6 separate regions of the Homo sapiens genome follow, and all the other regions are linked to region 1. The links are contacts of gene promoters, found by promoter capture Hi-C in blood cells and fetal thymus (Javierre and others, 2016). All regions are on one chromosome and are shown on one strand. The core of a region is centred on a gene start or on the middle of the fragment in contact, and the rest is flanking DNA. Distances in the headings are between cores, read along the strand shown. Region 1 holds the start of NENF (neudesin neurotrophic factor). Region 2 overlaps INTS7 (integrator complex subunit 7). Region 3 overlaps NSL1 (NSL1 component of MIS12 kinetochore complex). Region 4 overlaps DTL (denticleless E3 ubiquitin protein ligase adapter). Region 5 overlaps DTL (denticleless E3 ubiquitin protein ligase adapter). Region 6 holds the start of BATF3 (basic leucine zipper ATF-like transcription factor 3).

What was found. The method cuts DNA at HindIII sites, captures the fragments that hold promoters and counts their contacts. A CHiCAGO score of 5 or more calls a contact.
Region 2: a fragment that was not itself captured here is called in contact with the fragment with the promoter of NENF in region 1 in 7 of 17 cell types (fetal thymus, total CD4 T cells, naive CD4 T cells and 4 more); the score reaches 7.6 in fetal thymus.
Region 3: a fragment that was not itself captured here is called in contact with the fragment with the promoter of NENF in region 1 in 1 of 17 cell types (M2 macrophages); the score reaches 5.2 in M2 macrophages.
Region 4: a fragment that was not itself captured here is called in contact with the fragment with the promoter of NENF in region 1 in 2 of 17 cell types (naive CD8 T cells and activated CD4 T cells); the score reaches 6.5 in naive CD8 T cells.
Region 5: a contact is called between a fragment that was not itself captured here and the fragment with the promoter of NENF in region 1, in 1 of 17 cell types (naive B cells). The highest score is 5.9, in naive B cells.
Region 6: the fragment with the promoter of BATF3 here is called in contact with the fragment with the promoter of NENF in region 1 in 5 of 17 cell types (M1 macrophages, M2 macrophages, M0 macrophages and 2 more); the score reaches 8.8 in M1 macrophages.

What each region holds. Positions count from the first base shown.
Region 1 is chr1:212,430,844-212,435,884 of GRCh38, reverse strand. NENF (neudesin neurotrophic factor) reads right to left here and starts at 2,965. Exons shown (of 4, transcript NM_013349.5): 1 at 2,765-2,965. The coding sequence starts at 2,941. It overlaps LOC105372906 (a long non-coding RNA gene), which reads left to right and starts at 3,068. Exons shown (of 3, transcript XR_922577.4): 1 at 3,068-3,260; 2 at 4,041-4,144. RefSeq lists an enhancer at 2,370-2,459, a silencer at 2,620-3,179 and a cis regulatory region at 4,603-4,890. The HindIII fragment of the contact is 20,197 bases long and covers 1-3,532 here.
Region 2 is chr1:212,015,263-212,020,303 of GRCh38, reverse strand. INTS7 (integrator complex subunit 7) reads left to right here. Exons shown (of 20, transcript NM_015434.4): 3 at 36-182; 4 at 3,281-3,418. Among named protein-coding and RNA genes, the nearest start is that of INTS7, 18 kb to the left of the region's middle. The HindIII fragment of the contact is 682 bases long and covers 2,744-3,425 here.
Region 3 is chr1:212,784,217-212,789,257 of GRCh38, reverse strand. It overlaps NSL1 (NSL1 component of MIS12 kinetochore complex), which reads left to right. Exons shown (of 6, transcript NM_015471.4): 2 at 1,621-1,699; 3 at 4,765-4,895. Among named protein-coding and RNA genes, the nearest start is that of NSL1, 5.0 kb to the left of the region's middle. The HindIII fragment of the contact is 1,742 bases long and covers 1,681-3,422 here.
Region 4 is chr1:212,079,171-212,084,211 of GRCh38, reverse strand. It overlaps DTL (denticleless E3 ubiquitin protein ligase adapter), which reads right to left. Exons shown (of 15, transcript NM_016448.4): 13 at 3,462-3,597. Among named protein-coding and RNA genes, the nearest start is that of MIR3122, 4.1 kb to the right of the region's middle. RefSeq lists a cis regulatory region at 1,918 and an enhancer at 1,834-2,003. The HindIII fragment of the contact is 3,043 bases long and covers 1,530-4,572 here.
Region 5 is chr1:212,095,754-212,100,794 of GRCh38, reverse strand. DTL (denticleless E3 ubiquitin protein ligase adapter) reads right to left here. Exons shown (of 15, transcript NM_016448.4): 14 at 1-543. It also overlaps the pseudogene RN7SKP98. Among named protein-coding and RNA genes, the nearest start is that of MIR3122, 21 kb to the right of the region's middle. The HindIII fragment of the contact is 1,313 bases long and covers 2,381-3,693 here.
Region 6 is chr1:212,696,839-212,701,879 of GRCh38, reverse strand. It overlaps BATF3 (basic leucine zipper ATF-like transcription factor 3), which reads left to right and starts at 2,040. Exons shown (of 3, transcript NM_018664.3): 1 at 2,040-2,207; 2 at 4,815-4,919. The coding sequence starts at 2,118. RefSeq lists silencers at 2,023-2,102, 2,293-2,742. The HindIII fragment of the contact is 2,939 bases long and covers 795-3,733 here.

The DNA.
Region 1 (5,041 bases), core at 1,716-4,215:
GTCTTGTGGTCAACAGTAGGCTATTAGTAATTAAGTTTTGAGCCAGGCATGGAGGCTCACACGTGTATTCCCAGCACTTTGGGAAACTGAGGTGGAAGAGTTGCTTGAGCCCAGGAGTTTGACACCAGCCTGGGCAACACAGGAAGACCCCATCTCTACAGAAAATTTAAAAAATAGCCAGGTGTGGTGGTGCACACCTGTAATGCCAGTAACTGGGAAGGCTGAGGTAGGAGGACTGCTTGAGCCCAGGAGGAGGCTGTAGTGAGCTGTGTTCCTGCCACTGCACTCCAGGCTTAGCAATAGAGTGAGACCCTGTCTCAAAAAAAAAAAAAAAAAAGGAAAAAAACTGTAGTTTTGGGGGTAGTCAAAAGTTATACATGGCTGGGTGCACACCTGTAATACTAGCGGCTTGGGAGGCTGCGGCAGGAGGATCGCTTGGGCCCAGGATTGCCAGGCTCTAGTGCACCATGACTGCCTGTGAAAAGCCACTCACTCCATTCTGGGCGACACAGCAAGACCCTGCCTCTAAAAGAAAAAAAAGTTATATGCAGACTTTTGACTGCATGGGGGTCAGTACCCCGAACTCCTGTGTTGCTCAAGGATCAACTGTATAGATATAGATATCCAAATGGTTCTGTTCCCTGGTGAAACCTGGACTAATCCAAGTATCTTACGAACAAAGTGGAGACTCAGAGAGGTTTAGTAATTTGCCCCAAATCACACAGCAGAACAGGGACTCAAAACCAGGTATGATCCAATGTATTATACAAATTGTCACACTTCTGAGTGAAAGGGTGTTATTAATAATTATCCCTGGATAACAGGCATAGACCAGAACAATCTAGGTCAAACAACAGCGCAGCACAGCTTGAACCCACTGCACTCAACTGCCTCTCTCGTCCCTCGCTCCCCTCCTCTCTCTGGCTCCTTCCTTCCACCTACAGAGATCCTCAGGCTCCACTCCCAAAACAATTGTTTCCTACCCCTGTTTCCATCTCAAGGTCCTCTCTCTCTCAGTTAAATTTCAATCTATAACATCAACATCAAAAAACCAAGGGTCTTTTCTCAGTCCTCATCTTGCAGTTCTGGCACTCTTGCTGTAACCTCAGTGGTGAACTCTCTCTTTCCTTAGATTCTTGTGCCAGTGGTCCCAAAGATCATCGGGTCAGTTGGAGAGTCCCTAGAAGGAAGATTCCAAGAACCCAGCATATAGTTCTACTCACAGCTGGGAAGGAAAAACACAGAGGGAGAATCTAGGGGAATCTATGTGCAGGTTTCCTATGCTCTCTCCCTCCCATGAGGAAGAGCACACTCTTCCCCCAGCAACAAAACTTGACAGTATGTGCCATTCTTCTGGCAGAACATTCCTCTGCTAGAGATGCCCATTAGACTCAGCACCCAAGGTTTTCACTGGGGGCTGGTCACATGGGGCACCCTCTGCCTAGCATATACAGTGTTCAATACTAACCACACCATCTGTATATACGGCCTAGGCAAGTGAGTCCACCGTTATTGGGTAGGGAAGGGTGAGAAATCCAGACACTAGACAAGTCCCACCCTTGCAAGTAGGCTTTTCTAAGGAGAGCAGGCCTGCCATGTTAATTCTTTTCTGCACGGATGCCTGGACTCTGAACCATCTGGTTCCCTCTGCTACCGGCAAAAAGGCATCCCTTAACATCCTCACATCCCAGCCATGTCTCCCTCCCTCGGTGTCCTCACTGACTCATGGTTCTAAATGGCCCCTTCACAAATGATGCCCAAACTGGCATCACTGACTAAGGGCCAGGTTTCTGATACCCCCATGCAATCCTAGTCCATATAAGGCCAATTAACTCAGGAATTAGCGAGACCAGGCCAGAGGGTTTTGAAAAACATCAGGCCTCTTCCTGCTCTACCACTAACAGGTGGCAGGCCTCAGTTTCCTTATGTGTAAAAGCAGGAGATGGGTTCCTGCCAGCTCTGAAATACTATGGTACTATGACCTCCCCCCAATGCCGTTCCCCCGCTCCACATCTAATATCAGCCCCCTGTTGGTCCTTGTCGTGCGGCTCCAGTCCCAACCAACCCAGGTGGGCAGGTGGTTGTGAGTTTTCTGGACGCCTCTAGACTATTGACGTGTGTGGGTGTGTGTGGGCGGGGGGGTCTCTATTGACGTGTGGCGGGGGGGTTGTGGGGGTCTCTAACCTCCAGTCCACCCTCTGCGCTCACTTCCAGCTTTGGCTGAGCCCCAGGGGTACATGACCTAAAAGTGGGTTTGAGGAGTCCGATGCAGAGGCCTGGGATACAGGGGCAGGAAAAGGAAGTGCAGGCAAAGACTGGCTTATCCCAGGACCTGTCTCAATTCCCACCTAACCCAGGGAGCAGGCTCTGCTTCCCTCCCTCCGTCCCCCGCCACTCCCCACTATGCGTGGGCACAGTAAACGCCTCGGCTGATGCTAACATGAAAACCAAAAAGTTCTGAGGTCTGTACGCAGATCATCAACGAAAAGGCGGCTAGAGGGGAAATCTCCCGGGGACCGAGGGAGAAGTTCAGGGTGGGGTGTGCGGGCAAAGCGGAGCGCTCCGACTGTTGAGGACTCGTCCTCACCCCTCGGCCATCCTTCGGGGCCTAGAGAGAGGAGGCCCCCCGCCGGCCCAGGGCGCCCGCCGCGGGCCGCGCGTCCCCCAGAGCTTCCTGGGCCGCCGGCGCCTCCTGGGTCCCCGCTCGGCTCGCCGCAGATCGGACGCCACCCCGGGTCCCTCGGCCCGCGACACCCCCGCCTACCTCCTCCCCGCCATAGCGGGCCAGCTCCTCCTCGGTGAAAAGCCGCACTGGGGGCCCCCGCTCGGCAGGGCGCGGTGTCTGCCCGGCCCGGGCTGTGGGCAGCCCCGGGGCCAGCGCCAGGACCAGGGCCAGCGCTGCCAGCGGCCGCAGCCGCCGCCGCGGCGCGGGGCCCACCATGGTGAGCGCGCAGCGCAAGGCAAGGCCGGGCCAGGGCGGCGGGGCCCTAGCACGCCCGCCCAGCGTCCCGGAGTCCCGCCCCGCGCCCAGAGCCTCCCCGAGGGCGGGGACCCGAGAACTCCCGCCCTTCGCGCGCCTCCTGCGCCCCGGGGTGGGGCTGGCCGGGCTACTCGGGCCACGCAGCTGGAACCTGGAAATTAGGATTGGAATCCTGAACTCCTAAATCCAAACTACAGACTGGAAGTTACCAAAAAATGTCACAGTGGTTCCTTGATCAGGTAGAAAGATGACAGAGCCCAACATACCAGAACCTAGAAAGGTATATTTCTAAAATAAGACCCCAACTGTCTTAATTCGCTTTTATTTTTGGCTGATTTTTTTTCTTCCTGGTTGTGTTTAAGTTTCTGGTTCCCAAGGAGATTTTTGCAAAGGGTAGGGTGCTGTTACCGATACGCCCTGAAATAATAATAGCTAACATTTGTGCCAAACTTTGCTCATTACTTTATGCAACAAATATTTTTGAGTACCTCCATGTACCAGGTCACTGGGGACTCACCACTGAACAAGACAGATCCACGCCCACGTGAAGCTTACATTGTGTGGGCAGATAGACAATAAGATGCTAAGTAGTATGTTAGATGGTGGTAAATACTAGGGAGAAAAAGTAGGGCAAAGAGATAGGGAGCACTGGGATGGACATTTTATTTTATTTTATTGTTATGTATTTATTTATTTTTGAGACGGAGTCTGTCGCCTACGCTGGAGTGCAGTGGCGCCATCTCGGCCCACTGCAACCTCCACCTTCCGGGTTCAAGTGATTCTCCTGCCTCAGCCACCAGAGTAGTTGGGATTACAGGCACCCACCACCACGCCTGGCTAATTTTTTTTTTTTTTAATTTTTAGTCGAGATGAGGTTTCACTATATGCTGGCCAGGCTGGTCTCGAACTCCTGGCCTCAAGTGAACCATCCACCTCATCCACCCAAAGTGCTGGGATTACAGGTGTGAGGAACGGTGCCCGGTTATGGGGATGGTCATTTTAAATAGGCAGGTTAGGGAAGGCCTCACTGAGAACAGGGTATTTGCATAAAAATCTACAGGAGGCGAAGGAGGCGGTCTAGAGGGAAGAGCACTTTGGTCAAAGGATCAGGTGCATAAATGCGGAGGAATGAGGATGCCCGGCTTGCTGGAGGATCAAGGGAAGGTAAGAGGGGTAGGTGAAGTCAGGAAGGAAGCGGGTAAGGGAGTGGGGGTGGATCTTGGGGGCTTCACAGGTTATTTTCAAGACTGGCTTTTACTTTCAAGACTGGAATAGAGGAATTAACAGAAAAAGGGTCTCATTCCAGACCCAAGAGCAGGTTCTTAGACGTCCACGGCAAAGAATCAGGGCAAGTCGCAGAGCATAGTAGTTAAAATAGTTCATTAGAAACTACTCCATTTCTAATAATAGTACTACTGTGTTTCTGAGTAGTATCCTTGCTTTGAAGTAGTACTAAGCAAGTATTGTTTATATAGGAGCACCTCTGCCTTCAATGTAATGCTTGCTTTTATAGGGCTAAAACTAGCGTACTTCATTACAAAAGCCTATGATCAGCTTGTTACAGACTATTAGTATTGTTATTCTCTTGTGTAACTATTGACTTCAGGGAGAATTTATGGGTGTACTGTTATCTTTAAAGTGAAACTCATTTTTAAACTAAGAATGCCTTTTTCCATTATCTCATTTCCTCAACCATAAACATCTTGTGAAGAGTGCCTATCTTCCTGGGAAAGTCGCCCAGCAGGTTTGGCTTTATCTGACCTTTATTCAAGATGGAATCACTCTGGTTAGGACACTTCTGACATAATTCCCTCCTCCTTTTTACAAGGAGACCTTTAATCCTAAGGGGTGCAGGGGGACAGAGATCCATCTTCAGTAACTTCAAGCTGAACAGAAGCGATGATATTCCTGCCTAACCATTAGGATCCCTTTGCCCAAAGTAGAGAGCTAGCCAGTCAGAAAGCATCTGTATAGTGAGGACCAATCATACATAATTCTAAGTCCCAGAAAAAGGTGAAATCTAGAAAATTAACGTGTTAAATTTAAAGAAGCATTGAATAA
Region 2 (5,041 bases), core at 1,835-4,334, 420 kb after region 1:
TCTAAAGTGACCTAATTTATTTCTGGTTTTTCTAGAAATAATTTCCTGAGGCTATGTGTTCTTAAAGTTACCCAACAAAGTGAGAAACATTTGGAGAAGATTCTAAATGTGGATGAATTTGTGAAGAGAATTTTTTCTGTGATTCATAGTAATGATCCTGTGGCAAGAGCCATCACCCTCCGGTATATACCGTATTATAATAATTCACTATGAGATTATTTGAACTGTAATTATGTACAAAAAAGGCAGTGTATTTACATTTTTCATTTTGAGTATTAGGAGTTGTTTATGTTTTTTTGACTAAGAGTCAAGGCAAAACTGTGATAACTATCCCAGTCTGCAAATGCTTTTTAGTTAACATCTGTGTTAACTGTTTTGGTTATAAATTGTTGCCTAACTTGTGTTTGAAATGCATCTCTATGTAGATAGGTGTTCTGATCAAATAACTTGGTGGATCTCAATATAGCTTAGCCTCAGCACATTTTGAACTTCGTGTTCCTGCCCTTGTACTTAATGTTTTCTGTCAGTTTTCTATATTCTTCCTTGATTATGTGATCATTTTTAATGTGATAAATCATATTTGATTTCATTGGAGAACATCAGATATAACCACTATAGTTTCTTTAGCTTTTTCTTTTCTTTCTTGGCATATTTAAAAAAATTTATTTGTTAGAATTTCATTTTGTAAGCCTTATATCCAGCTTGAACCATATTCTCTTTTTAGCTCTGCCATTTATAGTATCATATCTATAACTTTTTATATCTTTTGAAATTCACTTTCCTAAATTATAGTGTTCATTTCTGACCTAGCCTGCCCAGACAGTCTTCTTTTTAACCAGGAAGTTTGGGATGTCACATCTTCCCTGAGTGTCGTTTTTTCCATATCAGGAATCAGTTCTTCCTTCTTGTTCAGAATTTAGTGCTTTTGTCATTTCTTTGCCTTTTGAGTGATTAAATTGTGAGTAATATGTGATATTTTAAAGTCAGTTCATTGATTTTCATCTTTTGAAAGCTATATTCAATCGAATTAATTAATTAATTAATTTATTTATTGAGATGGAGTCTTGCTCTGTCACCCAGGCTGGAGGGCAGTGGCGTGATCTTGGCTCACTGCAACCTCTGTCTCCTGGGTTCAGGCAATTCTCCTGCCTCAGCCTCCCGAGTAGCTGGGATTGTAGGTGCCCGCCACCACACTCAACTATCTTTTTTTACTTTTAGTAGAGACAGCATTTCACCATGTTGGCCAGGCTGGTCTCGAACTCCTGACCTCAGGTGATCTGCCCGCTTCGGCCTCCCATATTGTTGGGATTACAGGCGTGAGCCACTGCACCTGTCCCAGAATTTAAATTTAAGGTATTTTTACCCTTTACTTCAGCAAATATACCTATAGGAATTTTTTAAATGAATCATTTTTAAAAGTTGGTGAATATATGTATATAGATGATTATAGTATCATTTTTGTAGAATGAAAAATTGGGGAAAAATCGACATGGGAATAGCTATTGGTGAACTACTGTATAACTTTTAAAGAGTAAAGTGAGTTGTGAGTCTATATATACTGACATAGAAAGATATTGTTTTAAAAAGTAGTCAAATAGTATCCATTTTGTTAACTCATTTTGCTAGTTGATATTAATATATATGTTTATATAGGCTCAGAAAAAAATCTAGAGGAATATATACTGTTAACAGTGATTATTTTTGGTAGAGTCTTTGGGTTGTAGATTACAAGAGGCTTTTCCATTTGGCTTTTTTTGGTAATGTTTGAATTGGTTTTCACAAACATGGTTTTTTTTTTTTAATCAAAAGATAATAGAAAAGAATAGAATTTAACTGGTGGAATGAATTTCATAAATAATTTAGAGCTAGCCTGAATATTTTGATAAGAATGTAGATTAATATTTGAATGTTAATCATTTTCCATGCTTGCCCTTCTCTAAGTCATGGCAATTGACTTTTGCCTCAATTCTTTTTTTAAGCACTGTGGTTATCAATAAAGCCAGCGATCTCTAGAAAGCTTCCAAAAAGAAGGATCACTTTAAAGGAAAAAAAAATTAGATTGAAATCAGATTTTTCTACAGTAACACTTGATGCAATAAGTATTAAAGGAAAATTGAGCCAAGAATTTTATATCTAATCCAGTTTTCATTTAAAAGAGTAGTAAAATAAAAAGATTCTCAGGCACACAAGGCCTTAGGAGGTTTGCCATATAGGACCTGTTTTGTAAACATTCTAGAAGGAGGTACTCAAGTAGGAAGAGAAAAATTAAGCCGGAAGCAGTGGGAATAAGTCATTAAATGTGTCAGTATTAGCCTAGTCTAATCTTTTCTGGTATAATAGATTAATAGTCATTTGTTATTTCTTTTGAAAGATGTATAATTCCAAAACCTTCAAATTAAATATAAATTACATATTTAGTCCATTTTAGTTTCTTGCTACTAACAGTATTACTTATTTTTAACAGTACTAGGAACAGTACTACTTTGAGTGTAATTACAGGGAATAATTAGGTGATTACATGTCACATTGGAAGGTTATTTAGGATGTTGACTTTGAAGAAGGTTGTCATTGTAGGAACATTGTAGGTTTTGTTTACTGCAGTGTTTTGCAAATTTCTAAAATGTATGCCTTTCTGCTGAAAGGATTTTTCAAACTACTTTCTGTAGTTTATACCACAAACAATAGATTTTTTTCCTTTCTAAATGTATGATTTTATTATAAAGTAGACTGTGTTTTCCAAGCTTTACCTTCTGCACCGTTGTTGATTCTGGTGTGAGCCCCAGGGGCGTCCTCAACCACTGCTTTCTTGATCTTGAGGACATTTGAAAATCATCATACCAATATTTACTGATGTGGGAAAAAAAGATTGGGAGCTCTTACTTTTTTTTACTTTGTGTATCTGCTTAACAGCAAAAATGTTGTATTCTTAATGCTTTGCTGAAATGGACTTCTTTATGCAACATTGGAAAATTGATATTTTGATGCTTTAATAATTCAGAAGTTTCCTTCCTGGGCTGTTTGGTACCTGGGAGGTACTTCAAGGTGATTGTTAAAAATTTTGCTTTTTAGATAAGCCATTTTAATTTTTCTGACATATTGAAATATGTAAAAGCGTTTAAAATTTGAGTCATGGATTTCTAAAGTTATGCTTTATTAACTGGAGTTACATAGAATTACCTATAAACTTTAGTTTTGATAATCTGACTTTGCCTTGCCTCTTACTTTTCTGACCTTGACTTTATTTTATGCCCGATCTTCTTGGGTTTCTCTGTTTCTGTAGGATGTTGGGAAGTCTGGCATCAATAATTCCTGAGAGGAAGAATGCTCATCATAGTATTCGTCAGAGTTTAGATTCACATGATAATGTAGAAGTTGAAGCTGCTGTTTTTGCTGCTGCAAACTTCTCTGCACAGTCAAAGTAAGCTTACAAAAGTACATCCCTTTTAGTAATTTGGCTTCCCAAGAAAAATTTTTGAAGGAAAAACTGATCAACTTATATAAACACTGAGAGATACAGGAAAGTGTAAATTACAAGGTGTGTTTTCCAAGAAGGTTTACCTTATGTTGGGGAAACAAGACTTAAATTCATAAAATGGAAAATGTAAGTACAAATGTTGGCATTAATTGTGTAAATGAAATGAGTTTCCAGAAGGACAGGATCAGCATAGATTAGTTGGAGAAGGCTTCATTGGGTAGCAGAAGCTTTGTTGACTGAGGAGCTTCTCCCAGACATATAGATCTGTAATACTAAATTGCTTACTTACTGTCTTCTAATGTTAATTTGTTTTGCATTAGAGCTGTCCACAGTTTGGCAAAGACAATAACTTGAATTAAAACCAATTTTAACCTATTCAGAATGTCATGTCCTACACTGTTGTTTTACAGAACAGTATTTTGTTTTGGGCAGGAGGATTAAATGTTGACCATGGTTTTATTACTATGTTTGATTGGCTTCTCTTCTGTAAAAGAAAATACAGTATCTCCCTGACTGACAGGAAAAGTAGCATTGCCTTCTGGGGTGCATTTTGGTAATATGTATGAAAAGCCTTAAACAAGTACATCCCTTTGACCCAGGAAATTCACTTCTAGAATTTATCCTAAGATAACAGCAATATGTACTGATAATTATTTGTATGGATGCTGGTTGTAGTGTTACTTGTAACAACAAAAGAAATGAGAAGCAACCTAAATTTCTTCCATTGAGCTTAGATAAATTATGATCATACAATAGAATACGGTAACAACTTAAAACCAATGTTTTTAGAAACATATTTGGAAGCAGGTTACATAATAGGTTATGTAATATAACAGGTTTGTTTTAAAAAACCCCAATAGCTTATATAATGTAACAGATTTGTTTAAAAAAAATAAAAGCCGTAATATTTGTATTTATGCAATAGAAAAAAAGACTAGAAGGATATATATCAAAATCTTGGTAAGATGGTATATAATTTTTATTTTCTTTTTATAAATTTCTCTATATCTCTATATCTTGGCATGAGCAAGTTCCAGTTTTATAACCAGGTGAATAATAAATTTTTTGAATCCTGAAAAGTTAACTTTTTTTTTTTTTTTTTTTTTTTTTTTTTTTTTAGTATTTATTGATCATTCTTGGGTGTTTCTCGGAGAGAGGGATTTGGCAGGGTCATAGGACAATAGTGGAGGGAAGGTCAGCAGATAAACATGTGAACAAGGGTCTGTGGTTTTCCTAGGCAGAGGACCCTGCGGCCTTCCTCAGTGTTTGTGTCCCTGGGTACTTGAGATTAGGGAGTGGTGATGACTCTTAACGAGTATGCTGCCTTCAAGCATCTGTTTAACAAAACACATCTTGCACCGCCCTTAATCCATTTAACCCTGAGTGGACATAGCACATGTTTCAGAGAGCAGGGGGTTGGGGGTAAGGTTATAGATTAACAGCATCCCAAGGCAGAAGAATTTTTCTTAGTACAGAACAAAATGGAGTCTCCTATGTCTACTTCTTTCTACACAGACACAGTAACAATCTGATCTTTCTTTCTTTTCCCCACATTTCCCCCTTTTC
Region 3 (5,041 bases), core at 1,302-3,801, 350 kb before region 1:
CCTGGTTGACAAGAGTGAAACTCCATCTCAAAAAAAACAAAAAACAAACAAACAAAAAATAAAATAAGGATTTTACTTTATGAAATCTTTGAAATGTAGAATATGTACTTTAACTCATAATTATCAGTAATTTGGTTTATGTTATTTTTAATTATACAAAGGGTACAAAATATATGCTCATAAAAAAATTCAAACAGTAGCATAAAGCAAAATTCTTTGAGTTCCCCTTCCCCATCCCTCTTCCTTCTAGGACATAAGGTACTATTTTGGAGAGTACTTGGGGAGAGTAAACTTTCTATACCCCCTTTCTGTGGCTTTACCTCTTTCTCTCTGTTTATGTTTGTTTGTCTCCATTAATAATGTCATGCTGATGAATTGTTATTGACCTGCCTTTTTTGAAACCAAACATGTCTATTATTTGTTAGTGTTACGTAGAGCTTGTCTTCATCCTTTTTAGGTACTGCGTGGTATGAATATTGTCTATTTAACTCTTCTAATTTTGACTTTAGGTTTTTTCCCACAATTTTAAAAATTTCAAACAGTGCTGAAATGAACATTTCTAGCACATTCTCTTTAGTTTTTATGAGAGTAGTCCTTTAGGATGCATTGCTAGAAGTGAAATTGTTGGGTAATAGGAAATGTGTACTGCCGAATTCCTTTAGTCCATCATTTAAAAAAAATTTTGATGAAGTCCAATTTGTCTATTTTTTGTTTGTTTTTGTTTTTTGTTTTTTGGTTCTTTATCTTTTAATGTATTATGAACATTTTCAACCTTACAAAAAATTAGTTTAGTACAGTGGACACCCATATATCCACCACCAAACTCAACAGTTGTCAAAATTTTGTTACAGTTGCTTCTCCCTCTGTCTCCCAGGCTGGAGTACAGTGGCAATCATAGCTCACTGTATTCTCAAACCACTGGGCTCAAGTAATCCTCTAGCCTCAGCCTTTCAAGTAGCCGGGACTACAGGCATGTGCCACTGTGCCTGGCTAATTTTTAAATTTTTTAGTAGAGAAGGTTGTCTCAGTGTGTTGCCTAGGCTGGTCTGGAACTGGCCTCAAGCAATCCTCTTGCCTTGGCTTCCCAAAGTGATGGGATTATAGGCGTGAGCCACTGCACCTGGCCTACGTTTGCTATTTTAAAGCATATCTTAGATCTCATGTCATTTCATCGCTACATAAGTGTTCATCTCTCAAAAATACAGCCCTTTATAAAATATAATTTTATTTTTAAGCATGTATGTTTTCCCTCTTGTTAACATCAACAGTCATTCAGCAGCATATATAGTACTTATACCCCTGAGATTCAACTGAGCCTAAATTTGTTAGATTTTATTTTTTCTTTCATTCTAGGAGTACTTTTTTTTGTTTGTTTATAAGAATATTCCAAAATTTTAAATCAGATTTTCTCTTGGGTAGCATAATGGCTATGAGACCCAAAATGTAGGTAGAATCAATGATTGAAGTGGAATCTTCATTGAAAAGAATAGATATACTAATTAGCTATTCTGCTACTTTTATTTCCTCTGTCACAAATCTGGAAGTATTATTTTGCTAAAACGTTTGAATTTAGTATTTAAAATTATTTTTAGTGACTTGACTACTGTGAATTTATTGCAGACTTTTGAATCAGCTGTGCAAGAGAATATCAGCATTAATGGGCAAGCATGGCAGGAAGCTTCAGATAATTGTTTTATGGGTATGTGACTTTTTCCTTCCATTATTAATTTCTGGGTTATTTTTGCAGCTAATTTTGTTTTGAATGCTGTTTTTTAATCTCCATATTTAGTGTCATTTATTTTCAAGAAGTTGTTTACTAGGGGAGTAATAAAGAACTGAGATTATGACTTCAATAGTCTTCTTTGTCAATAGTTTATTGGAAAATACTGTAGAGCTATCTCCAGATGACAAAAGAGGCCCAGGGAATTTCTGTAATTATTTACAAAGCAAGTTGTATTTTTGTAAGTGATCTCTAGAGTGAATAGTGAAGTACCCTTAAAAGTGTGAAGTTATTATTAATTATACAAGTACCGTGTAAAGGATGAGGTTACATCTTTGTAGAAGGTTCCTTAAAAAGACAATTTTTTTTTTTTTTTTGAGATGAAGTCTCACTGTCACCCAAGCTGGAGTGCAATGACACAGTCTCAGTTCACTGCAACCTCTGTCTCCCAGGTTAAAGTGATTCTTGTGCCTCAGCCTCCCTAGTTGCTGGGATTACAGGCATGTGGCCACCACGCCTGGCTAACTTGTATTTTTGGTAGAGGACAGGGTTTCATCATGTTGCCCAGGCTGGTCTCAAACTCCTAGCCTCAATCTCCTAAAGTGCTGGTATTACATATGTGAGCCACTGCTCCTGACCTTGTTCTCAACTCTTGGCTCATAGTAGGCACCTATGAAATATGTTAAATTAATGAATAATTCTTTCCTGTTCAATTTTTCTTTTCTTTCTTTTTAGACAGAGTTTCACTCTTACCTAGGCTGGAGTGCAGTGGCGCGATCTCAGCTCACTGCAACCTCCACCTCCTAGGTTCAAGCAGTTCTCATGCCTCAGCCTCCCAAGTAGCTGGAATCACAGGTGCTTGCCACCACGCCTGGCTCATTTTTGTATTTTTAACAGAGATGGGGTTTTACCATGTTGGCCAGGCTGGTCTCGAACTCTCAAACTCAGGTGATCTGCCTGCCTTGGCCTCCCAAAGTGTTGGGATTACAGGCCTGTGCCTGGCTTCTGTTCAAATTTTGTGATACATTTTAATTGTAGCTTTATCACTAGGTAGTGCTAAGAAAGCATGTTCCTCTCTACAAAAAAGATTTACCTGGGAGACTTTTCTTTTTTTTTTTTTTAACTAATTGTGAAATAGTACATTATTTTCTTCAGGCTAATTATTTAACTTTTTTAATGGATAAATGAAAATTTAGGGAGGGCTGCTTATATAAATAATTATTCAAAGTAAGAAATAACTATTATTTCTTGCCCTCAAAAGAAGGGTACTTTCACAATGTATACTACTGGGTGATGAGTGCACTAAAATCTCAGACTTCACCACTGTACTATTCATCCATGTAACCAAATACCACTTGTACCCCAAAAGCTATTGAAAATCAATCTGTGTGTGTCTCTCTCTCTATCTATCTATCTAGGAAAGAAGGAGGGAGGAAAGGAAAGAAAAGAAGGAAAGGAAGGGAGGGAGAATGAATGGGAAGGAAAGGGAAAGAAAGAAGGAAGGAAAGAAAGAGAAAAAGGAAAAAAAGGGTGCCCTCAAAAGAACTAATTTAGTGGGATTCAATTAATATTTGTGACATGAATGAAAGACTATACCTGATATACTTGATTATCTGATATGTATATACCGAAACATATCAGCAATTTCTCAAAATGTTTCAAAAATTATGTTTCAGATGTTAGATTTCTTCCTAATAAAGCTTCTGATCAATAAAATAAATAGGTCCATTTCTAGCTTAGACTTTGACACAACAGAGCAATATGAGGACCAGTTAAGCTAAGAACTTAGCTCTTTAGTATTTGTAACTACTTAGTATTTTTACTCTTTAAAATGATTTTCAAAATAAAGTTAGATGGATCACCTACATTCCTTTCATCTAGGGTGCTTCATTTCTGGGCCCCATCTCAGACTTACTGAATCAAAATTCTGTACTCCTGAAAACCAAACACCGCATGTTCTCACTCATAGGTGGGAATTGAACAATGGGAACACTTGGAAACAGGTTGGGGAACATCACACACTGGAGCCTGTTGTGGGGTCGGGGGAGTGGGGAGGGATAGCATTAGGAGATATATCTAATGTAAATGACGAGTTAATGGGTGCAGCACACCGACATGGCACATGTATACATATGTAACACACCTGCACATTGTGTACATGTACCCTAGAACTTAAAGTATTAAAAAAAAAATCTGTACTCCTAACATACTCGTTAGGTGATTCTTCTAACATTTGAGAATCACTGTTTTAAAACATGAAAAAGCATATGATAAAGTAGAGTTAGCTAAATGAAAGAAACTCTAAACTCACTGTATCTTTCAGTTTTTCCTACCATCAATCCAGTTGAGTCCTATTTCAGATCTAGTTACTCCACTCACTGCTACTGTCATAGCTTTGGGTCAGTTCATAATAAGTCAAAACTTCTTAGCATCCCTGATATTAAATACCCTTTACAGCCTGGTTCTTATATATTTTATCATCCATTTCTCCTTTACTTTATTCTGTAGCCATTTAGAACTTTTCTCAGGTCTCCAAAGACTAGGATCTTGCAAATACTGTTTCCACTGCCTAAAATGCTTCTCCCTATTCCTTTTTTCCCGTACCACTTTTTATCCATTGGACTTATACTTCTATTTCAAGCTCAAATGTTACTTCTTTAAAGTCTTATATTTCACAGTCAGTCAGTTTTCCATTGTTCTGTGTCCTGATGGCATTTTGCTCATACCTCTATTGCACTTATCAGGTTGCCTTGCAATTGTCTGTTTCTTTCAGCAAACTGTGAACTCTTAGAGAGTAGGAATCATGTTGTGCTCATCTTTGTATTTCTCTTGTTTAGGCCTGGCTTCTTATAGATGCTCAATAATTGATTGTTCAATGCGTAAATAAATTAATCACCAAAGTGGGGGCATTCATTAACTTGCCATATTTGTTTTCCTTCATTATTTTGTGTTTTCTAAATTTAGTTTATAGCACATTTCCATACAGAATGTAAACAATGAGTTTTAGGGAACTTTTTATATATACATTTTTTTTTCTCAAATAGATTCTGACATCAAAGTACTTGAAGATCAGTTTGATGAAATCATAGTAGATATAGCCACAAAACGTAAGCAGTATCCCAGAAAGATCCTGGAATGTGTCATCAAAACCATAAAAGCAAAACAAGAAATTCTGGTAAGATGATTTGCCTTTAAAATGTTATAGTATATTTTACCACAATAAAAACATTAAAATATAAGGCTCTACGTGGAGATAAGTGACATTTTGTTGTCTTTTTCTTTCCTGCCTCAATTAGTATTGTTTGTCTCTTGTAAGACTTT
Region 4 (5,041 bases), core at 1,802-4,301, 350 kb after region 1:
AAAAAGAAAAGAAAAAAAGAAATTAAAAAAAGCAAAGAGCAAAAACAAATAAGGCAGCACCATCAAAGACTACAGAAACCAGACTTAGAGCAAAAGACTCCTCTGAAGTCTAGTTCTGCATCTTATAAGCAACTAAATAAGTCCTTAGAAAAATGAACCTGTATATTTTCCCTTTCTCACCTTCAATTCCCCATTAACCTTAGGCCTTGATGGCTGAAGTAAAATGAATCTTTAAGCTTAAAACTCAAGCTTAAAGATAAGACAGTTTGAAACAGTCACTGAGAGAATATAAGAGTAAATGGACAGGGAAATATGATTGTTGGCCAGTAAGAGTCAACTTGAGGCTAGCAGTAATTAATTGAAAGTGAGCATTCCACAAGGTTGTGTGTTTACCATGTAAGTACAAGTATACAGCACATCTAATGATACCCTGAGGATCCACACTGTGGGTGGCTCATTGCTTGAAGATTTTTGCTCTTGGTTCATTGTTACTCTCTTCAACATTATCTGTCAATTTATGGTGATTAAAAAATCTATGTACATGATCTTTCCAATACCTTGGTTTCTCAGTTTTTTGACCTCCTTCTTCTATAATCTTGTCCTTTCACTCTCCTAAGCCACTTATTCTTTACCTTATTATTACCAATACCTGGAAATCTTCCATTATCTTAATTTCAATCATCCCACTCATCACCACTTATTTTCCCATCTCCCTTTAGTATTTCAATTCCAACAATCTTTTATCCTCAATCCACTGCTAGTACCACATTTACACTATCCCTTGGCCCCATTATGTCCTTACTTCCCTCCTGATATGGTTTGGCTGTGTCCCCACCTGAATCTCATCTTGAATTCCCATGTGTTGTGGGAGGGACCTGGTGGGAGGTAATTGAATAATGGGGGCAGGTCTTTCCCATGCTGTTCTCGTGACAGCAAATAAGTCTCATGAGATCTGACAATATTATAAGGGGGAGTTTCTCTGCCCAATCTCTCTCTTTGCCTGCCGCCATCCATGTAAAATGTGACTTGCTCCTCCTTGCCTTCTGCCATGATTGTGAGGCCTTTCCAGTCATGTGGAACTGTAAGTCATTAAACCTCTTTCTTTTGTAAATTGCCAAGTCTTGTACATGTCTTTATCAGCAGTGTGAAAATGGACTAATATGCCTCCTTACCAAGGTTATATCTTATAGTCATAATCATCCTCTTTGCATCCACTGTCAACTTCCTTCTTCACTTGCATTGCTAAACCACATCCCTGGTTAAATCTAGCTCTCTACCTATAGTATACTTGTACTTGCATAGCAAACACACAACCATGTGGAGTGCTCACTTTCAATTAATTATTGCTAGCCTCAAGTTGACTCTTGAAGCCCAACAATCATATTTTCCTGTCCATTTATTCCTCTATTCTCTCAGTGACAATTTCAGACTTTCTTATCTCTTCTAAAATCTCTACTCCCTTTCTCCCTTATCCTCATTCGCAGTTAATAACCCTGATTCATGTTTTAACATCAGAACAGAAGGAAGCTTCTGTAAGTTATGGCCATCTCATCTCTCCACCTCTCTCCCCACCATCTCTCAGTAGCCTACCTGCACCATGCTTATATATTCCACCTTTTCTCCAATTACTATGGGTCAACTATCCATGTTCCTGGCAAAGGCCTACCCTCCTACTGTGTATCAGATAGTATCCCCTCATGCTTAACATTGCTCCAGCAAATTCCCCTGCATCAATCTCCCCCTCTCTATACGATCCTGCCAATCACTGTGAAATGTTATATTCCTATTTAAAAAAACCCCAGCAAACTTCAACCCTGCTTCTTTCTCCAGCTACCACTTCACTTCTCTTCTTTCCTTTATAACAAAACTCCTTGAAAGAACTGTCTATACTTGTAGTCCCCAAGTCATATACATGAATGACACCAATCAGGCCACCATCATACCACCAAAACAACACTCATTAAGGTCACCAAATAACCCCTATGATTGCCTAATCCATTGGTCAGTTTTTAGGCCTCACCTTATTTGGTATACCAGAAACATCAAATCAAGTTCATCCCTCTCTCCTCTTATTTACTTGGCTTCCAGGATGTAACACTCTCCCAGTTTTTCTCTTACTTCTCTGGTTGTGGCTGCTCAGTAGGCTTTAATGGTATTTGTCACCTCCTCAACCTCTAAACATCGGGGTACCCCAAGACACCAGGCCTATTTTTTTCTATCTATAGCTATCTTCACCCTGTGTGATAATGAACCTCACATCTGCAACTTCAACCCTGAACTGCAGAATTAAACATCGAAATGCCTCCCTGACATGTCCATTTGGGTGTTTAATAATCATATCAAACAACATGTCCAAATGGAACTCCAGCTGTTCCCTCCCAAACTTGCTCTTCCTGCAGGGATATTTATCTAGGTTAATGACACTCCATCTTTTCAGCTTCTTAAGCAAAATCTCTGAAGTTATCCTTGATAACTCTCCCATATAGCCCCACATCTGATCCCTCAACATATTCTGTTGGCTCTGTCTTGTAAATATATCCAAAATTGGATGACTTCTCACCATAGCTTCTGCTACTACTCTGGTCTAAGTCACCATCATCACTTCCTGGATTATCTCAATGGCTTTTTAAAAGTAGCTTTTTGCTTTTACCCTGACCCCCTTACAATTTATCCTCAACACAGGAGCAAGAATGATCAAGTTAAAAGTCAAATTATGATACTCTTCTGCTCCAAACCCTCTGGTGGACTTTTGTCTATCAAAATAAAAGCCAAAGTCTCACAGAATTTCATTTTCTACTACTATTCCCTCCCTTTCCTTTGCCTGCTGCAGCCCTAGGGGCCAGCCATGCTAGCCTCTCTGAGGAAGAGAAAATATGCCAAGCATGCTCCTGCTTTAGGGCCTGTGTACTTTTATCTGCCTGGAATATTCTTCTTTAAAATATCTATATGGCTTACTACTTCACTTTCTTTACTCAAATGCCATCTTTTCATTGAGGCCCCCCTGGTCACCTAATATAAAATTTTGATAGCATATTTCACCCTTGCCCTTCTCCCTTTCCTATTTCCTTTATTCCTAAGCCCTTATTGTTATTTGACACAGTATATATTTTACTTTTTTATCTTGTTTATTGCCTCTCACACTAATATGTTAGCTCTATTTACATCTTCAGGATTTTTTATTCTTTTGTTCATTGCTGAATCCCTAGCAACTAAGAACAGGGCCCAGCACATACTGGGTGTTCAAGAAATATTTGTTGAATAAATCCACCACTGTAGTACCTTGTGTAAATGATAAACATAGTAGTGCTTGGGAAATACTTATCAAAAAGAATGAATGGCAAGAAGATAGTGCTTTTCTTTAAAAACATACCAAAGCAAGATCAAATCTAGCTTATTACTCTGTACTGTCGGACTAAACTAGTCAAACCATAAAAAACTTGGAAAGTATATGATATCCTTACCTAGGCCAGGTCTTGACTCTTTTTTCTTCTGAGAGGCCCAACCCACCGTGGAAAGTTTATCACCTCCTGGTTTCTCCTCTAAGCCTCTATTCAAGCGCCAGATTTTTAGTGTATTGTCATCAGAACAGGTAGCAATCTAAGAGGGAGTACCAAGAAGGGAATTAAGAAATTTCAATCAAGATTCAAAATACATTAAAAAACAGGTGTGTCTTAAGGCCTTGTGACTGGATAATTATTTTGTCTAATAAACAGGATATAGAAAATAATATCTTAAAGATCATGTACATCCATTTCTTGCTTTCAGGAATCATTCCAGATTTCCAACAAAGCTGACTCTTTAGTTTATTCTTCATATACATTCTACTAGTATGTCTTTTGTTACTGGTCATTTCTTATCTAATCTAAAGTTCTGGCTCTTTATCATCTTCTGTATAAATACAAAATATGTAGTTAAGACACTCTTTTTACTCTTCTGTTAAATGATCAATCAGTATATGTTACCAACATTCAATTTCTACAACTTTCTTCTGAATTCTGCATGTTGTGCCACATTGCTAAAGTAATGGCACCATTTGCAAGATCAGACTTGGCCCATGACTCTAGTAGGCTGTGACAAGTAGAAGGAAACCATTCCTTTTGAGATTCTTTTTCAGATAGGTAGAGGAGCAATCTGGGAAAACAACAAGTTCCCTAGGCTGAAAGAAGTTAAAAAATAACCTTTGTCCCTTTAAAAATATCTGACTATTCTAGATCTTGGTCCCAAGCCTTTTATGGCAGAGAAAGTCCAGCTTGAAGAGCTTGTGGCAAATGGCCACTGGTACCAGAGCTGTTCCCCAGCATTTGTTTATATAATTTCTCTATTTCAGTCACTAAAGAGAAAGAAAAAAAGAATACATGTTCTCTTAAGTCTTGGCCCCCAAGAGACTGGCAGCTTTTTCCTTTCCTTACTGGGAGGCCAAAAGAAGATACACATATTTAACTGTTCAATATGAAATGTTTGGAATCTCACAGTTCTTCTATAGTTTATTAACAATAGTTATTTGCAGAGCACCTACTATGTGTCTGGTAGTTTACATTCTTTATCTTATTTAATTCTCACACTCTAAAAGCTTTGTACTCAAATAATCTCATATGCAAAATGGGAATAAAGTTATTTGCCCAAAGTAACCACAATCAAATGGAAGAGCTAGAATTTAAACCCAGCTTTCTCCTATTCCAAATGCCAGACATTAAAAACACAAAAACAACACAAACCATATTTTACTTTCCTAATTCTAGGCTTGGGATGAAATTATTTTTAAGACTTAAAAAAGTAGCCAATAAATTAGTATAGGTAAACAGCCCTGCTATTTCCTTTGAGCACAGGAAATAAGGATAATTAATATATGATGTTTGAGATGCATAGGGGTAAGGATAATATATGACAATTGAAAAAAAGATAACATAATTAACTGAATAATTCAAAAATCATTCAACTTAGTAAGTCCCATGAAGATGCAACCCTCCATGTTAAAAGAAATTACATGGAATCTCAGAGGAAAAAATATCATTAATATGTAATTTTGGGTGATTAAAGTAAT
Region 5 (5,041 bases), core at 1,788-4,287, 340 kb after region 1:
AGTCCTTACTAAGGTCTTCCTGGTTACCAGCAAGGCAGCACAGATCCAAATGAAGATTTTCAACTTGGCCATCAAGCTCAGTCACACAGTTACAACTCTTCACACACTTTTGTTTCACACTCTCCAGACAGCTTGAGTCTAGCCTCCTCTTTACTCTATTTCTAGACTCAGAGCAAGCCTCTGCTTGGGATGACTTCTGGCTCACAGGAATAAGGGCTTTTCTCGGAGACATGATCTTGGTCTCCGAAGCAGGTGGAGTGATGGGTGGTGATGAGGAAGGTGTTCGGGTCACCCAGTTTCTAATCGACATCTTGAAAGATGAAGGTGGCTTGGGAGAGACGGAGGAGACAGAGCCTCTTCTGTTGATGGGAGACCGGGCCTTGGCAGGAGAGGTTTTAATAGAGAACGTAGGAGTATTTGAAGGAAGAGGGAGGTCTCCAGCACAGCTTGGGGCACAAGCTGCGGATGACGGGGAAGAATTGGATGGATTGCACTTTGCCCTGGGGGCTTTGGCAGGAGTACTCTGGCTACTCGTTACTGTTACTGAAAAAGAGGAGAGGATCATGAAGATCAGAAGTGAAAGCCATACAAAGTCCCTAAATTCTCATCAAGAAAAATCATAGCTAACCTAATCATCTAAGGGTCAATTTGCCAGTAAGTAGGTATACATCACTTGATTCCAACCACACCCTTTTATCATTTTCCTTTCTCTTTTCCAAGTCACCAACCTCCCAACTATCCCATTATAAAATATATACTTGTAAAAATCGACAAAATACCGAAAAACATAAAGAGAAAAAATTTAAAGCACTTACGTAAACCATGTTTAGCATACTTTCTATATTTGTGCATGTGATACATACTATACATCTCAACTTTTTTCTTTACAAAAATGAGACTGATTTAAGGGGAAAGTGGCAGATAGGAGGCAGGACTAATTTGCCACTCAGACAGACAGAACAGCATGTGGAGACTCACATAGTGAACTTTGGCTCCAAGAACTATCACAGGAACATACCAGAAAAAACAAAAGAATTAACAGATCCTTTGAAAGAAGTGGCTTGCTGCTGCAAAATCCACAAGACAGCAGAAAAATTGAGTGCCCAAAGTGTGAGAGGGCTCCCGAAGCTGTGTGCTTGGTCGAAGAGGACAACCATTCCTGATAAGAGGAGAATCGGTCTTCAGTCAAGGGTATACGAGTAAATGTGCTCCCCTGCTAGAACCTCCAAACAAGCTCTCAAGGTCCAAAGTGTGAGAGGGTGGCTGGGTGTGGTGGCTCATGCCTGTAATCCCAGCACTATGGGAGGCCGAGGTGGGTGGATCACTTGAGGTCAGGAGTTCAACACTAGCCTGGCCAACATGGTGAAACCCTGTCTCTACTAAAAATACAAAAATTAGCCAGGCATGGTGGTGTGCACCTGTAGTCCCAGCTACTCAGGAGGCTGAGGCAGAAGAGTTGCTTGAACCTGGGAGGTGGAAGTTGCAGTGAGCCAAGATCGCATGCACTGCACTCCAGCCTGCCTGACAGCGAGACTCCGTTTCAAAACAAACAAACAAACAAACAAACAAACAAAAAACAGTGTGAGAGGGGTAAAGTCCACTTCTGCACACATCCTCACTGAGGATCCAGATCATGGGAGAAGGAGAACTGAAATGAATTTAGAGAGCCAAACAAAATATAAAAGTAGAAGCAGCAGCAGGAAGAGCCCTGTAGGCACTCCTGGTCCCCAGGGAAACCATTTCTGACTATCTCACAGGGGTCTTTGGAGAGGGCAGCCAATGGAATTGGGGAAGGACCATAGGGAGAAGGAGACTTTCAGCTGAACTTTGTAATGATTTCAACTGAGCGTGAATTTTCCTGGGCAGAATCTGCAGGGGGATGGGACAAATAGGAAGTGCAGATATGAGCACAGAAGCTGTGGCAGGCAGATGGACAAGGCCTAACAGCCCTGCTTGCTTTCTCGGCGGGGAGTTTTGTAGTCTAGGGCAAGATCTCCACCCTGTGCACTGGAGGCATGGATATAAATTTGGTTCTGTTGGCTGTTGGGGAAGCACTGCAGGAGTGAGACTGGCCTTGCTGGCTGTGGTCTGTCACTGCCGGCTTTCCCCTATTTCCCTGGTGATGTGTATGAAGCAGCAGAGGCAGCCATAATCTCCCTTAGAACGTAACTCCATTGGCCTGTTAACCACCACTCCCATCGCCCAGAGGCCACAGCAAGCCCTGCCCAAGGAGTCTGAGCTCAGACACACTATCCCTGCCCCCACCAGATGGTCTTTCTCTAACCGCCCTGGTAGCCGTAAACAAAAGACAAAAACTCGTGGGGCCCTGCTCATTGCCTGAGAAGCCCGAAAACCTATCCAGGAAACCGTAAGGCAAGCTTATATCCCCCGCTATACTACTGCAGTTGATACTCTCTTGAAAGTGCCACCTCCTGGCTGGAGGCCAACCAATTCAAGCCATTACAGCAATTCAACAGAACAACCCTGCTCCAAGAAAGCAGAAAATAACAGCTAATTCTACTGCCTGTAACATCTTGGCCAACCAGAGAGGTCCTGAGTCTGTCCATGTAATAACTTCAGTGCTAGTATAACTAGCATTCAAGACAACCAGTACACTAAATAAAACTACAACCAAGTACTCTCACACAGTCCACTTCACTCCTTTCCTACCACCTCCATTAGAGCAGGTGCTAGTATCCATGGCATACAGACCTGAAGACAGATCACATCACAGGACTCTTAGCAGACACTCTCCAGTACCAGCCTAGAACCCAGTAGCTCTGCTGGGTGGCTCGACCCAGAAGAGCAATAACAATCACTGCAGTCCAGCTCTCAGAAAGCCCCACCCCTAGGGAAGGGGGAGAGCACCACACCAAGGGATCACTCTGTGGGACAAAAGAATTTAAACAGCACACATTGAGTCCCAGATCTTTCTTCTGACATAGTCCACCCAAACGAGAAGGAACCAGAAAAACAATTCAGGTAATATGACAAAACAAGGTTCTATAACCACCCCTAAAAGATTATACTAGCTTACCAGCAATGGATCCAAACCAATAATAAATCTTTGAATTGCCAGAAAAGAATTTAGAAGGTCAATTATTAAGCTACTCAAGGAAGCACCAGAGAAAGATGAAAACCAACTTAAATTTAAAAATAAAACAAAACAGGATGTAGACGAAAAAAATCTCCAGAGAAATAGATATCATAAATAAAAAACAATCATGACTTCTGGAAATGAAAGACACATTTAGAGAAATGCAAAATACACTGGAAAGTTTTAACAATAGAACCAAACAAGTAGAAGAAAGAATTTTGGAGCTCAAAGACAAGGCTCTTGAATTAACCCAATTCAACAAAGACAAAGGCAAAAGAATAAAAACTTCTCTGGCCTTGCTCGAGATCTAGACATCCAAATACAAGAAGCTCAAAGAACACCCAGGAAATTCATCACAAAAAGATCATCACCTAGACACACAGTCATCAGGCTATCTAAAGTCAAGATGAAGGAAAAAATCTTAAGAGCTGGGAGGCAAAAGCATCAGGTAACCTGTAAAGGAAAAACCTATCAGATTAACAGCAGATACTCTACAAGCTAGAGGGGATAAAGGTCTTATCTTTAGCCTTATTAAATAATTATTAGCTGACAAAATAATTATCAGCCAAGAATTTTGTATCCAGTGAAACTAAGCTTCATAAATGAAGAAAAGATGAAAGTCTTTTTCAAACGCTGAGAGAATTTGCCACTACCAAGCCAGCATAGTTTACAAAAACTGCTAAAAGGAGTTCTAAATCTTAGAGCAAAACCTTGAAATACACAAAAATAGAATCTCATCTCATAGTGGGGGACTTCAATACAGTAAGTCAACATAGAAACAATGGACTTATACCCTAGAACAAATGGACTTAACAGGTATTTACAGAACATTCTACCCAACAACTGCAGAATATACATTCTATTCATCAGAACATTCATGGAACATTCTCCAAGATAGAGACCATATGATAGGCCACAAAACAAGTCTCAATAAATTTAAGAAAATCAAAATTATATCAAGTACTCTCTCAGACCATAGTGGAATAAAATTGGAAGTCAACTCCAAAGGGAATTCTTAGAACCATGCAACATTAAATAATCCGCTCCTGAATGATCTTTGGGTCAATAATGAAATCAAAATCAAGCTGGAAATTAAAAAAATTCTTTGAACTGAATGAAAAAAGTGACACAACCTAACAAAACCTCTAAGATACAGCAAAAGCAGTGCTAAGAGGAAAGTTCACAGCATTAAGTGCCTACATCAAAAAGTCTGAAAGAGCACAAATTGACAATCTAAGGTCACACCTCAAGAACTAGAGAAATAAGAACAAACCAAACCCAAACCCAGGAGGAGGAAAGATATAACAAAGACCAGAGTAGAACTTAATAAAAATGAAACAACAACAACAAAATACAAAAGATAAATGAAACAAAAAGCTGGTTCTTTGAAAAGATAAACAAAATTGATAGCCCATTAGTGAGATTAACCAAGAAAAGAAGAGAGAAGATCCAAATAAGTTCAATTAGAAATGAAACAGGAAATATTAACAACGAATACCACAGAAATACAAAAGATCATTCAAGGCTACTATGAACACATTTGTGCTCACAAACTAGAAAACCTAGAGGAGATGGATAAATTCCTGGAAATATACAACCTCCTAGATTAAACCAGGAAGAAATAAGAACTCTGAACAGACCAATAACAAGCACTTAGATTGAAATGGTAATAAAAAAATTGCCAAGAAGAAAAAGTCCAGGACCAGATGGATTCACTGCTGAATTCTATCAGACATTCAAAGAAGAACTGGTACCAATCTTACTGAAACCATTCCAAAAGAGAAAGAGGGAATACTCCCTAAATCATCCTATGAAGCCAGTATCACTCTAATACCAAAACCAGGAAAGGACATGACAAAAAAGAAAACTACAGACCAATATCCCTGATGAACATAGATGCAAAAATCCTCAACAAAATACTAGCTAACCAAATCCAACAGTATA
Region 6 (5,041 bases), core at 791-3,290, 270 kb before region 1:
GTATCTAGCTATTTAATCCATTCATTTTGATGTATGATCTTTACATCAAATTGATCTCTGCCCTAAATGCTACCTAGTTAACCAAGACTAAATGTATTTGAAGAAACCCTTGCGTAACACAAGACAGTAGACTATGCCTATATAAAGAGTTCGTGTGTGCTGGGACATGGTTTCAGGCTCCCTGGGGAGAGACAGGGAAGCAGCAGCCCCAAAGGACTTAAAATGTGATGTGGTTCAGTGAGAAAAGTGGGCATGACCAGAATAAAGTGTAGGAGTGCACGGGAATGTTCCCGAGGTGTTTCTACCTTGCCTTTTCTGTGCATAAAAAACACTGGGGAATGAAATCACTTCTGAAAATGATAACCCCTTGACCCAGATGTTTTCCTAGCTCGTTAGAGCCCTTTTAGTGCTTCAGGAATGAGAGCTTTCAGCTGACCTAGTGCAATACATATACTGAGCACCTGTTGAGTGTATGTAGCGTGCTATGCTAGGCACCTTGTGTGGGTACCTTGTGGGATGCAAAATAGTCCTGGGGCAACCACCAGTTAAGCTGAGTGATGAAATAACGGAGAGGAAAAGATTAATCCGGGCAGATAACCCAGCGTAGCGCTGGCTCTGCTGCGCAGCCTTGCTGCTGTGGAGTGTGGCGCTGCAACTCTAAAGGGCTGCGTCCACCCTCCGTCTTCCTCCCCGCCTCTCAGTTGGCCGAAGCTTCTGATCACACAGACAAGAATCTCCGCTCGCTTTCCCGCTGGCCTCCAGGCAGCCAAGTTCACTCAAGCTCTCTCAAAGCTTTTGCAAGAGTGGGTCTTAAATCCTGGCGGGGGGCACGTGCACTCATTTAAGACTTAAAAAGGAATCGGAAATGACTGTCCCCATGCCCACTGCTGCCCACAAACCTGAAGACCCAAGCGACCACACTTGGTAGGCACTTCTGCCCTTCTGGTCTGGTTCCCACCCGCCCATCCCGAATCGCGGTTATCTTTCCCGGTGCTCACAGCATGCAGACCACAGCCTGTGGCCGCTAGTGTTTCCTTCGCTAGGACCACGGGTAATTGTCTTGGCTTCGCATCTTTTGACTGGCAGGCAGGTGGACAGGGACTTGCCCTACCTCAACCCGGTCCCCAGCTTGGCACGAGCAGATAAATCTTGAAAAAGAAAAATGATCTGGGCCGTTTAACCGTGGCATGGCGGGTCCAGATCCCCAAACCTGTCACTAGTGACGTCCCACGTGGCAGATTCGCTCTCAGGGAAGCCCGTCACCGTTTTTGTCCGGGACATCCTCCCCATGCCCACCCTCCGCTCCGGGAATTCACCCTCGGGGCCGCCCCGCCTCGTTCCCTCCCACAGCCCGGCGGACCCGAGACGGGAAGGGCAGGCACTCCCTGCAGAGTCCCTGGGGCGCCCGTGGCTCGGGGTGCGCGGTGGGACTCGGTGAAGCCGGCGTCTTCACCCCAGAGCCGCGGCTTCGGGGCCGCTGGAGGAGCGAGAGTGGCGCCCGGATGACTGATCGCCGCGGAGAAAGTCCCCCGGGACTGTGACCCCCGCGCCGGGGGGCGGACGCAGGGCGTGGCTGAGGCGCAGGAAGATGCCGCGATGGGACCGGGAAAAAACACCGACCCCAAAACACCCACTGTGTTTCTCAACCTGAGTTCCCCGGCAGCCGCCGAAGGACCCCAAAGGCTGCATGGCGCCCCCCTGGTCCCCACCCCCCCGGGCGTCGCCTCGCGTGGGTGGGCTTCGCGTTCCCTCCGGGGTTTCAGAGCCACCACGTGACTTCCACGAAGCGCGGGGCGCCGGCGGAAAGCCGCGGCAGGGGTGGGATTTGGGACCCCGAGGTGCGGAGAGAGGGCGGGCAGAGGAGGAAACGAGGCGGGGGTGGGAGAAGGAGGGCGGGGCAGACGTGGGACGGGAAGGACGGCTGCCGGGACTGGCGCGCGGGGACACTGGGCCGACGCGTGGAGTAGCGGGGAGAGCGGGAAGCCTGAGGGGGCGGGGCCGGCGCGAGGCCGTGGGTGCGGCACGAGGATGCCGGCGGCGGGACAGCGCCCGTAGGCAGCCCCACGGGCAGGGCGCGCGGGCGGGGCGGGGCGGGCCGGGCCAGAGGAGCGCCCGGCATGTCGCAAGGGCTCCCGGCCGCCGGCAGCGTCCTGCAGAGGAGCGTCGCGGCGCCCGGGAACCAGCCGCAGCCGCAGCCGCAGCAGCAGGTAGAGGGCGAGAGGCTCAGGGAGGGCCGTGGGGTGCGGGGACCGGCGCGCCGCGGGGGGCGAGGAGGTGGGTGCTGGAGTTCCGTGGTGGTGACTGCGGAGGTGCAGAGGTGGCGGGTGCGGCCGGAGACAAGCAGAGGTAGGGGCGTAGGGATGTTGGGGAATGGGGGCGATCCAGGGACCCTGTCGTGCGCACAGTGTCCGCGGCTCCTGGAATGGCTCCTGAGCCAGCTCCTGCGCCCTCTGGGGGAAGAAGCCCGAGGGCGCCGACGCCTGGCTGGGCCGGGCATGGCCGGTGCTCCCCGGCACGTGGGCTCCGCACTGCCCTGAGGGCCGCCCCATCCTGGCGCAGCCAGCGACTGCCACCCCACCACCCGCGCCTGTAGCCCCTCCAGGATTCCCCCGGGTGGGGGGGGTGCTGCCGCGGGAATGGAGAACGCCGGACTAGTCAGCCTGGGCGGAGGGAACCCACAAAGGGCCGACTCCGCCCCCAGCTGGTGGAAACCCTTTGCCCCTTCCCAGTTCGCTGTCCCCTAGCAACGTTTACAGCGGCGCAGTCAGGAAGGAGACCAGGTTGGCCACAGGGACGGCCGTCTGGAAACTTTGCCTGGGTCTTGGCCACCTGCCTTACGACGAAGACTGGGTCTTTTCATCCTTACTCCCCACCTTCCCAATTCAGCGCCCGGCCCATGTCATCAGGTGTCGCTGGAGTGTCACAGAGATCTGAGTTTGGGCCTGGGCTTTGCCACACACAGGCTGAGCAGCCTTGAGCAATTTGTTTAACCTCTCGGACCGTCCATTTCCCCATCTGTAAAATGAATATAGTAACATCAACCTCTCAGGATTTTTGAGACTGAATCAGATATGGTTAATAACATAATACTATCTCTAACTTTCGCTCACCTCTTTCTGTCTTGATTAAATGTTTCTGCTGGGTTGGCAGGTGTGATCATGGTGATGAGTCCAGTTTAGAGTCAGCTCCCCGAGGGCAGTATGCAGGCTGCTTTCTTGTGCTAGTGACTTTTTGATTACAGAGAGCAAAGAGGCATGAGAAGCACTATGCAGAATACATTTTTTTTTAAAGTAGCAACTTCAACAAAGGCAGGTAACTTCTTGAGGGCATACTGTATGCTGGGAGCTTTAGGACAAAATCTCATTTCATCGCATCCCAATCCTAAGCATTAGGCTGTTAGCACCAAGTCTGCAGAGTTCACTGACCCTTTGTTTAGGGCTTGTATCCCCAGTGTCTAGAACAGTGTCTGGCACATGGTAGGTGCTCAGTTAATACATATTGAAAGAATGAATGAATTATGCTTACAATAAATGAGAAAACTGAAAATTTAGAGAATTTAAACCATTTACACAAGACCATGTTGACACTAAGAGACAAAACTAGGATCTGTGTGATTCTAAAGCTAAAGAGCTGTCTTCTAACCACATGTTCCCCTGTAATGTTCTGGTTTTGTTTATCAAGACTTCTTTGCCTCTCTAGAAGACTGTATTATCATACTTTGTTCCCTTAAGCTTCTATTTGCTATGTATGTTATTTATTCCTCTCCTTTTTATGCCTTTATATTCTTGCATATCTGAAACTTCTTACCTGCAGTAACTTGGGAAGATGTGTGTCTTATGTGGAATACAAGATGAGATCAAATGATAACTGAAAATATCCTTTTTTGTGTTATTAATATTTGCATTCCGTGAATATTAATAACTGAGTAGTTTTCCTTGTTTGTACCTCTTGGCTCTTAAACTCTGTAAGTGTGGTATTTTTCCCGCTTGGTGGTGTCTTCTCATGGGGTTCTAGAAAGCAAATACTGCTCTCCTTTTTCATGTTTTCTATAGCTGATTGAAGTGTTTTTACCATGGTCAGTGCATTTTTCCGCCTGCCTGTTTCATGATCACTATTGAGGGATTTGACTGAATTTGGTTAAATCTTACATATAGCTAACAGCTTTCAAGACACATAAAAAATTTGCTGACTTCTGAAACAAAATGTCAGCCAAGCATTGTTCAAATGAGTACACTGTCAGTGGGGTTTAAGATCATTTGGTGTGTTGGTAGAGTTATGTGGCTGCAATTAGTTGTAAGTGTAATCATGATTTGCATGCAGTATCAAAAGTACCTTTCATGTGTGGTGGTATAAGGACTGGCAAACAGCAAGTTCCAGATAGCAGATCTCTCCACCGCCCCCCACCCCCACCCAGCTTTCCAGTCTCAGATGGACGACATTGACACCACAGCTCTTCCAGGCACACGCCCTGTGGGCTAGAGGTTTATGAACGTTGATTTGGAGACCAACAGACCTGAGTTCCACTTCCCACTCACCCACTTAGTGGCTGTAATACCTGGAGCAAGGTCCTTAACCTCTCTGAGTTTCTTATTCCTCATCTTTTAAACGGCGGTCACACCACACACTTCACACACTCACATGGTGAGTGCTCCTGGGCAAGGGGCTGTTGTGAGCCCATTGGTATAGCAACTAGTGGTGCTGTCTACTGCAAAGCAAATGATGAAGCTCAGTGAACAACGCTGAGTGATGAGACAGGGCAGAAAAGGGTAAGGCGAGGGGCCACGACATCACACCCACCCAGTGTTTTTCCCCAGAGCCCTGAGGATGATGACAGGAAGGTCCGAAGGAGAGAAAAAAACCGAGTTGCTGCTCAGAGAAGTCGGAAGAAGCAGACCCAGAAGGCTGACAAGCTCCATGAGGTGAGACCGTGGTAGGGGCAAGCCACCTTAGAGCCACACAGCCTCTGCCTTGCACGGGAGTGGGGGTGATGACTGTTCTCTTTATCACGATTTCAGCAACACTCATATCTAATTTCTGCCAG